Linked DNA regions of Homo sapiens: all the other regions are linked to region 3. The links are contacts of gene promoters, found by promoter capture Hi-C in human tissues and cell types (Jung and others, 2019). All regions are on one chromosome and are shown on one strand. Each heading gives the region's core, a stretch centred on a gene start or on the middle of the fragment in contact. The rest is flanking DNA. Distances are from core to core; before and after follow the strand shown.

Region 1 (3,512 bases), core at 754-3,253, 730 kb after region 3:
TAAGAAAGGCTACGGAGTAATCATTCTGTGATTCTCTCCCATGTGCACGTTAATAAATTTGCATGCCTTTTCTCCAACTGAAATAAAAAGCTCGGCCGGGTGCAGTGGCTCACGCCTGTAATCCCAACACTTTGGGAGGCCAAGGTGGGCGGATCATCTGAGGTCAGGAGTTCGAGACCAGACTGGCCAACATGGTAAAATCCTGTCTCTACTAAAAATACCAAAATTAGCCAGGTGTGGTGGTGGGCACCTGTAGTCCCAGCTACTCAGGAGGCTGAGGCACAAGAACTGCTTGAACTCAGGAGGCAGAGGTTGCAGCGAGCCAAGGTTGTGCCACTGCAATGTAGCCTGGATGACAGAGCTAGACTCTGTCTCAAAAAAAAAAAAAAAAGAAAAGAAAAGAAAAAAAGCTAGAAATTTTTAAACTACCAAGTTAGCTTCTATGAAAAATTATCTGAGTTGAGTTTAGATTAGCTTTTTCTATATTTCTGATAACACCAAAACCAACTTATATTGCCAAGATATATTAACATATAGAATTATATACATTTCCTACCCTTATAAAAATCAGCGTTTCCTCTGATATTGAATAAATGAGGCAAGTACGGTGAATTTTGATAACTGTGCTAAGGAAAAGCTAATTTTAATTACAGACAAAATGTAAAAATTTTGAAAAGCGTTAAAAGAACATTTGGAAATTATTTTATAGAAGATATAATAGATAACTATAAATGCCTAAAAAATAAATTTAAGTGGAGAAAAGCAAGTGATTAACACTAAGCAGACAAACTAAATGGACTTACAATGAATAAAAGCCAAATTTTCATTAGGTGAAAAATGTTGTAAGTGAATAATTTTCATAAATTTCCTTCCTATTATACTTAAGACTATGACTGCCATTGAGTTTTGCTAATAAGTCATCAGAAGGAAATACCTTGAATGATTGATCCAAATGAAGATTCAAAAGAAGTCTCTTTCGGTTATCATTTAGCATGCCATCTATTTTTTTCATATGAGGTAAAAGTAGCTCATCTGAAACAACATTATAATTTAACAGGATAAACTATCAATAAATATTTTTGAAAAAAATCCAACTTTTTCTCAAAACATTTATATATTAAAATACACTAAATTCATTGGCATATGTAAAATACTGATTGCAAAAAAATTGGACATGAAGCTTTCTGAACAAAGGTTAACTTGAAAAGTAGGTTTATAGTAGCAAGTGAGAAAGAGGCAGCTCAGTATGATGATGGGATGAGCACTACATGAGGATCCAAAGTTCTAAGTTTTAGCTGAACTACAACTGCTGGATAAACTAGAACTGGATTTTAACTGAATAGAACTGATATGTGGCAGCTATGTGACGAATAGGCAAGCTGCCTAATTCCTCCAGACCTCATTTACCCTCTGAACAATCTGAACAATTACAAAATACAAACTGATCTAACAAAACACTGAGTATGACCAAGGGATATTAAGTCACTTTAACTTGAAGCAAAGAAAAAGTAGGGGAAGAAAAATGATCAAAACCCAGTACCAAAAATATGAATCAAAATAGTTATTTTAGAAAAAGAGGGGAGAGTAAAATTATGACAAAGATTCCTATTCAAAGCTTTTGGCTTTCAGTGTCACCACTCTGAACTTTAAGCTCCATTAAGAAAAGTACTTTTAGAATATAATTAGTTTTGGTGTAGCATTAAACATTTTAGATTATTAGATTCTTTCTTAATTTACCAGCATAGTACTTTATTATATTTTATAATACTAACTGCCTCTAATAACCTTCTGAAAAAAAACAACAACCCAGAATCCAGGTCACAAGTTTCACAGCTAAGTAAAATGATTGTTTACATAGTCTTTCTATTAGTGATTCAATCTGTTCTAATACTGTATTTACATTCTACAAAAGTAAGTTTTAAACATTTGTGATTTAAAAATAATCTTAAAAAATTTTCTCCCCTTAGAGAAAAATCAGAAAACACTGATAAGCAATTTTTAAAAATCTTTCAAAATACAACTATACAGAAATGACTACTACAAAGAGAAGCATATTTTATGATGCAAGGAATATAACATTTAATAGCAAAAATGCTGACCTGGGATTAGCTGAGTTTTAATCATGGTTCTTCAACCTCTAACCTGTTCTTTAACTTTAATCTCTTTTGAACTTTAGTTTACAAAATAAATGTTTCAGACTAGGTAATATCTAAAGTCCCTTCCAGCTCCTAATTACTTGAAAATGACTGATATACAGGTTACTGTCTCTGATTAGGTGGTAAGAAAAGCACTAGACCAGAAATTAGAAGACTTTAATTTTAATCCTTTCTCTGCCAGTTTCAAGTTTGTGGGCCCTTAAGCAAGTCACTTAACCTCTCTGAACCTGTCTTAATCCACAAAATGGCTGTCTAAGTTGTTTTAAGGTTAAATTAGAATATATGTCTAAGTATGTGAACATAATAAAACAGTATATAGTCATGCACTGCATAATGACATTTTTGACAATGACAGACCACATATACAATGGTGGTTCCATAAGACTATAATGCCATATTCTTACTGTACCTTTTATTTTCTTCTTTAAAAAAAACTTTTTAAAAATTTCAATAGCTTTAGGGGTACAGGTGGTTTGGGTTACATGGATGAGCTGTATAGTGGTGAAGTCTGGGATTTTAGTGCATCCATCACCCAAGTAGTGTACATTGTACCCCATAAGTAGTTTTTCATCCCTTACCCCTTTCTCACCCTCTCCCCTTCTGAGTCTCCAATGTCCATTATACCACGCTGCCTTTGTGTACCTATAGCTTAGCTCCCACTTATAAGTGAGAACATGTGATATTTGGTTCTCCATTCCTGAGTTACTTCAGTTAGAATAATGACCTCCAGTTCCACCCAAGTTGCTGCAAAAGACATTATTTTGCTCTTTTTTATGGCTGAATAGTATTCACTATATTTTCTTTATTCACTCATCGGCTGATGGGCACTTTCCATATCTTTACAGTTGTGAACTGTGCTGCAATAAACACATGTGCAGGTGTCTCTTGGGTATTATTTATTTTCCTTTATGTAGATACTCAGTACTGGGACTGCTGGTGAGAATGTAAATTAGTGCAACTGCTATGGAAAACAGTATGGAGATTTCTCAAATAACTAAAAGGAATAATATTAATTGGTATAACCCAGTGCATTTACTGGTTTAATACTAATTTTAACTGATTAGAAAATAATTGCTATGATGTATCTTTTACAAAAGATACAAGTATATGATTTTAATCTTTATGCCACTTTTATCTGGTTCATCTTTCCAATTATTGGAAAATAAAATATACTGACATACAGACCTTTCATGTAATACTAACACTTAGTAAACTATTTATGAGGATGATTAGATTCTAGAATTGGAAGAAACTGGTTAGAAGCTATACAATTTTCCCATGAGTAGAAAGCAATAAAAGTTCAAATATTCAGAGAATGCATGAAAAGATATGACCATTTTATGGAATTAAGATGCT
Region 2 (3,162 bases), core at 367-2,866, 560 kb after region 3:
TCTAGTCTGGCTTTAGAAACACATTAGACTTAAATTCAAACGCACCAGAAATGAAAATAATTGATATATAATTGTTTTTGTATAGTGAAGTAGAACTTTCTGAGTTTTTGAAATTTCCTTGTTTCTCAATTATTCAGGCATTATTCATGCATTTTATTATAGCGTAAGTTAAACTGAAATAGGCAGTTAGATACTCCATTCTGTAACTCTGAACACAATGGGTTTGTTTCTCCAATTTCCTAGCTGTAAGTTACAAACTGCATCCTAAAAAAAAGTTTCAGGAAGACCAGATGTTATTCCAAGGGGCTGAAAGTTGTCTACATAACAGGCTCAATTCATATAATGAAATGAAGAGCTGCTAGCAGTTGCCTGATTTATTTAGTTGGTAATATTTGCAGTTACTTCACACACACAAACATACACACGCGCACAAATAGGTATATATAACATGTATTAAGAACAAATGGTAAATAATATATATGTATATTTTTTAAAATTTATATTTTTGGTTTAGGAATTAAGGTTTTAAATTGAATGCTGGTTTTAGAAATGCATATCCTGAGCTGTGTTTTTCTCTTTCCTGGTTTGCTGTTTATTTTTTATTTTCACATTCTATATTTTTGTTTAGCCTGTGAGAGGCTAAAGTTTTCTTTGATCATATCACTCAATGTGGCCATTAATATTTCTGGAGAAGACACAAACCTATTTATAATACTTTTTAAAAATCCGAAGTGATAATAAGAATGTTTTTACATTGAAAGTAATACTTAAGTGTTTACATAACATTCTGTATGCACTCAAGAAAATAAAGTTTTGTTAATACATTTGTTGTAACTCAGTACTTCATGGTGGGAAAATTGTAATGTTCATTTCTTTATATTCTGCTAAGCCAACTTGTGTGACTCCAAATACCTTTTTTTAATAGAAAATACATACATCTTTAGTAACGGAAGATAATTTGCTTCCCCAGAGAAACTCCTTGCAAATCCTATTTAAGTACAAAATGTCAAAGGAAAAAAGTATTAAACTTTTTAAAAAAATTTGAAACATCAGTTGGAAATGAGAGCATATTAATTACTTTTAAAAAAGGTTAATGATGCTGCTATATGAGCCAGTGCATCAGATTTGCTCATAACTGAGAGTTGAGCAGTATCTATTTAGCTATGTAAAATTTGGATTTAAAATGTCATTCTGAATTTGTCACATGCTTTCATTTTTTTGCTGTAGTGTGGAAATTGTTGGAGGTAAAATTATCTTGCTCTAGTGAATGGCATTTAGGACAAACTTCTGTGTATTCTTAATATATAATTTCAAAAACTAGGCCAAATTACTTTGGTGTTATATATAATACATAGGAGATAACATTTTGCCTCCACTCCCTGAAATACATTGTTCTACTCTTTATTCCAAAACTGCTAGGTCACATGATTTAACAGTATTATTATAAGATGAGCAAGTCATTAATTGTATGACTATTCTTAAAGTGATAGTTATCAAGTATAAAGTTTAAATATCACTATGATATGAAAGTACTTTTGTGACTTCTTAGTTTCAAATAAAGGAAACATTTAAATATGTCTCCAGCTATTTAATCGGATAAGGATATCTTAAATGCAGTTTAGTATATTTTTGGATTTAATAAATGAGAGGTTTTAAACACTTGAGTTAAGTGGAATGCCCCAGTCAGAGCCTCAGTGCTCTTTAAAGAACTACTTTTTACAATGATCAAAAAGGTCACTAAATAATCACAAAATTGAGAAAACCTACAGAATTTTGACATATTCTTTTAAATTGTTCTGCCCCACCCAGCCTGTGGTTTCTGTAGCTTTTCATGTAATTAGGTGATGAGTGACAACATGTAAGCTACAATATCTTATTGTTAGAGAAGTAATTTGTTTTGAATCGGGCCACATTCATAAGGAATTTTTTTACTGAAGCATGTTTTTTATTGGTGGCTGAAGGAGAAATGAAGAAGGTAATGCTGCTGGTAATAGCAACGATGTATCTTGCTGTCTGTGAAAGCTGTATTTCTTTAATAAAAGCATATAGAGAATTGATTGTTTTATTTAAAATTTTTACAAAAGATGAATTCTTTTCTCTATACTTGGTTTTTCCTTCCTTATAAATAATGGGTTGTGTAGCATACATTTCAGTTTTTCAAAATGACCTTTCTTCTTGGAAAATGGAAGTGAACTCAGGATGCAACATGAGTGTCCTAAATTGAAATAAACTTTTCCACTGTTGATACTGTTTTAATACCTTTACATAGCAATTTAAATTACTGTATTATAATGTTTTCTTTCTGTTGAGCAATGTGATTTTAAAATGCAGATACAATTACTGCATTATATAGATTATGGTGATTTCTATACTTCAGCTTGCAGCCTTTTTACCAAAAAAAATCTGTACTCTTTTCTTATAGATCTACACTTTTCCTGTTTGTAATAAATGTTGGTCCATGTCTGTGTGATTATTCAGATTTTTACTTTAAAACTCAATATGCTTTTTTATCTAGTTTCTTAGATGCATATATAAATGTAGAATAGAGATGTATTACAAGAAAAAAGTACTTGTAAACAGAACTGAGTGATAATCTGAAAGTGCTTTGAATAAAGTACTGTTTGATAAGCAAAGGAAATATTTGCATGTTGACTATAATAAGTAGTAAACTATTTTAGGTTTTATTGAATTATCTGATTCCATCCCTTTTCCCTATCCATTCTATAACAGAGATGTTTAGATGCTGTCACTTCTACTAACATGGTCTATACATTTTTTCCCTTGGGACTTTTTTTCTCAGCCAAAGCAACTACTTTCAAAAGGATGTAGTCACTTAGATAATGACATTTCTTTAAATAAAACTGTATGTTTTCTAATCTTTATAATTTCTAGATAATTCTTTTATGTGAAATGTAGCCATTTATTTTCAAGCAAAATCTTGTGCTAGTCAACCTGATTGCCTATGTATTTCTCAGCTTTATAAAGCAAAACTAATCTCTGCAGTCATTAGTAAACACATTGAAAATATATGGTCATTTTCTTTACCCTGCAAAGACTCTTACGTTTTAAACTCAGCTTCTTTATATTCTATTCTTTGGTGTAATAAGAGTCATGATATATTCTGAAATTGTGGAAAAAGGTTTATGATAAAAAATGCATATA
Region 3 (3,167 bases), core at 300-2,799:
TTGGTTCAAGAAATCCTCCCACTTCAGCTCCTGAGTGGCTCCAGGCAAATGCCACCACACCTGGTTAATTTTTTAAATTATTTTATAGAGACAGAATCTCGCTATGTTGCCCCTGGCTGTTCTCAAACTCTTGGCCTCAAGAGATCCCACCTCAGACTCCCAGAGTGCTGGGATTACAGGCTGGGTGCTGAGCTATCGCACATGGCCTGTATTAGCCATAGACTGAGGGGAAATACATTTTCTTGAGAGCCTCAGCCTAGTGATCACTTGTATGAATAAACAATGATGGGTGGCTGCCAAAGTCAGAGAGCAAATACTGCGTGTGACAACTAAGTGTGGGAAGCTCAGTGTGGGAAGAAAAAGCTTCCCAGTTTCAGACATGCCCCTTAGTAGGGACAGCTGCCTCTTGTGTTTGGACAAAGTGTCCAAGTTCAAGTGTTTCACACACACACTGTTCCGTCTTCTGTTTGATCACAACCCTATGAGGCAGCCTGGTTTTCTTATTTCTATTTTATGGAAAACCTACTTAAAAGTCAAGCAACTTGTCCAAGGCTACCCAGCTTGAATATCTGACTCTCTCCACTTTGCTGCTACACACACACACACACACACACACACACTTTGCACTGTGTGTGCAGATACATATGCATATATATATTTAACTTGTGAAGCTGATACTGACTCTTTAACTGCCCTCCACCCATCACTAGTCATACCAGTGATCATTAGGCAGAGGCTCTCAAGAAAATGTATTAGTTATTTCCCCTCAGTCTATGGCTAATACAGGTTACTCACATAAATGAGCTGTCATGTCCTTTGGACAAAATGTCCAAATCGCTCATAAGCAATGGGTGAAGTATTTGAGGTAGGGCGGACAGGATTTCCTTTTGGTGGTTAGCTCGTTGCCTGTTAGCTCCTGGTGATATCTGTGTTTGGAAGAGAACTAAACTGCATTTCACTGAAAACACTCCTTCAGGTCTATTACAAACCAGATGAGGATCCCCTTTTCTAGAATCTTCCTCAACACTGCTAACGTTTGGCAGATACATAGGTTGGCTCTAACAGCCATTCCCAATCAATCCTCTTCTCCTTTGTCTGCCTCCCACAGTAGTGGATGAAAAATCAGACACTGATTTTCTCAGACTTCTTTGCTGTGGGCGCGGCCAGTGAGGCAATGAGGTAAGTCTGCTGGTGCAGGGGCCAGGTTTCTAGGAAATACTTTTCTCCCTCATGGGAGAAAGAGAGGAAGCCTGAAGTAAGCTTTCTTCTGCAGCCCTGGCCCGCTGCCTGTTCTGGATGAGGGTATGCTGGGATATGACAACGGAAGCCAGCGGGGTCGCAGAGCAAGAGCGAGGCGGTGGGCGGAGTCGAGGGACGGGAGGCGAGGCGAGGCGAGCCAGGGGGCGTGGCTTTCTAACTGCGGGGTGCGGCCAGCCGAGGTGGGCGGGGCCGCGTTCCGGGACGTGGTCGTCCGGGCTTTGGAACCCCGCCTGTTAGGGGCCGGGCTGAGGCGAAAGGGTGGGGCCGCGCTCCATCGGGGCGGGGCTTGTGGAACCTCGAAACCCCGGCGACTCGGGGCCTGAGCGCGCGTCTCCCGGCGCGGGGTTCCTCCCACGCAGACCCTCATTCAAACGATGCCAAAGGGGCGGCGCGGCAGCCACAGCCCCACCATGAGCCAGCGGTCGGCTCCGCCCCTCTATTTCCCGTCCCTGTACGACCGCGGCATCTCCTCGTCCCCGCTCAGCGACTTCAACATCTGGAAGAAGCTCTTCGTGCCGCTGAAGGCGGGCGGGGCGCCAGTGGGCGGGGCGGCGGGGGCCCGGTCCCTGTCCCAGGCGCTCCCCGCCCCGGCGCCCCCGCCCCCGCCACCACCCGGCCTGGGTCCCTCCAGCGAGCGCCCCTGGCCCTCGCCCTGGCCCTCCGGCCTGGCCTCCATCCCCTACGAGCCTCTGCGCTTCTTCTACTCACCGCCGCCGGGGCCTGAGGTGGTTGCCTCGCCCCTGGTCCCCTGCCCCTCGACCCCCAGGCTCGCCTCTGCCTCCCACCCGGAGGAGCTCTGCGAGCTGGAGATCCGGATTAAGGAGCTGGAGTTGCTCACCATCACTGGGGACGGCTTCGACTCCCAGAGCTGTGCGTGACCTCGCCAGGGCCACCGAGCCCAGCCTTAGCCTGCCCTAGCTCCCTCCTTGGCTCCGTGCCCCGACCCGAAATGTAGCCTGGTTTGACTCCAGCCCCCAGTAGTCCCAGATCCAAAATCTATCCCCTAGCACCCAGACTCCCTTATCCTGGACTTAACCGACTCCTCCCCCCACCACAGATCTGAACTTCATGAGCCTCTTAGTCCCAAACTCCATCCTCCCTCCGTCCTAAACCCTTTGGGTCATCTGGACTCTGAGCCTCCACACCTGGAACTCCATCCGCCACCACCCCGTCCTGAACTTTAATCCTCCTGCACAGTCATCCTCCTACCCTGTACTCTGGAGCTCCACCCACCACAGACAGTCCCTAAGCTTTAATGTTCGGTCCTAAACCGGGGCTCTCCATGGGGGGAAGGTGAAGTAAGGTGACTGTCAGTTGTCTGTAGGGGGAGGTGGGAGTTGTGCAAGAACCACAAGGCCCAAGGCCGTTTCCAGGGCAGCTTTGGGACACTCCACTTCTCAATGCTGGGGGGCAGCCCCCCTGGGACTCTGTGGCCTTGGCGCCGGTAGTTCTCTCACCAGGATCCTGGGCTGATATCTGGTCTTACGTCTGAAGTCTTAGGGCTCTGGACCACGTGTGCTGATGCGGGCAGGATCCCTCAGCCTACGAGCTGAATGACTCCTCCCTGTTGGAGGGTAAAGTTGTTAAATGCCTTGTACTCCAAGAAGGACCTATTGCAAAGTAGAACTTTCAGTAGCGGTAGGTTGTCCTGCAGACTTTGTCTTTCCCATCACTTGTTTTGGCTAAGGCTTGTCCTTGACCACTGGAGAAGGGCAGATAGTTCTAAAAAGATCATTCCAACTATCGTATATAACGGCTTAAGTTGGCTTCCCCTGCCACACAGAGAAGGGAAGTATGAAATAACCTAAATGCTTAGGTCCGTGTGGCCATGGAAATGGTCTTCAGTTCATCAGACACACTGTAATGCACCCTTTCTCATAGCCATGGAAGGAAGACAGTCCCTAGAA

Evidence for each region. The method cuts DNA at HindIII sites, captures the fragments that hold promoters and counts their contacts. A contact is called where the count stands out against the background at its distance.
Region 1: a contact is called between a fragment that was not itself captured here and the fragment with the promoter of C11orf91 in region 3, in 1 of the 25 tissues and cell types used here (lymphoblastoid cells).
Region 2: a contact is called between a fragment that was not itself captured here and the fragment with the promoter of C11orf91 in region 3, in 1 of the 25 tissues and cell types used here (lymphoblastoid cells).

The regions. Positions count from the first base shown.
Region 1 is chr11:32,966,566-32,970,077 of GRCh38, reverse strand. QSER1 (glutamine and serine rich 1) reads right to left here. Exons shown (of 13, transcript NM_001076786.3): 10 at 935-1,032. The region is part of intron 2 of LOC105376615 (a long non-coding RNA gene); the gene reads left to right. Among named protein-coding and RNA genes, the nearest start is that of DEPDC7, 48 kb to the left of the region's middle. The HindIII fragment of the contact is 4,122 bases long and covers 1-3,512 here.
Region 2 is chr11:33,137,009-33,140,170 of GRCh38, reverse strand. All of the region lies in intron 3 of CSTF3 (cleavage stimulation factor subunit 3), which reads left to right. Among named protein-coding and RNA genes, the nearest start is that of CSTF3, 23 kb to the left of the region's middle. The HindIII fragment of the contact is 8,496 bases long and covers 1-3,162 here.
Region 3 is chr11:33,699,208-33,702,374 of GRCh38, reverse strand. C11orf91 (chromosome 11 open reading frame 91) reads left to right here and starts at 1,549. Exons shown (of 2, transcript NM_001166692.2): 1 at 1,549-2,130. The coding sequence starts at 1,635. RefSeq lists silencers at 1,374-1,613, 1,794-1,883. The HindIII fragment of the contact is 4,290 bases long and covers 813-3,167 here.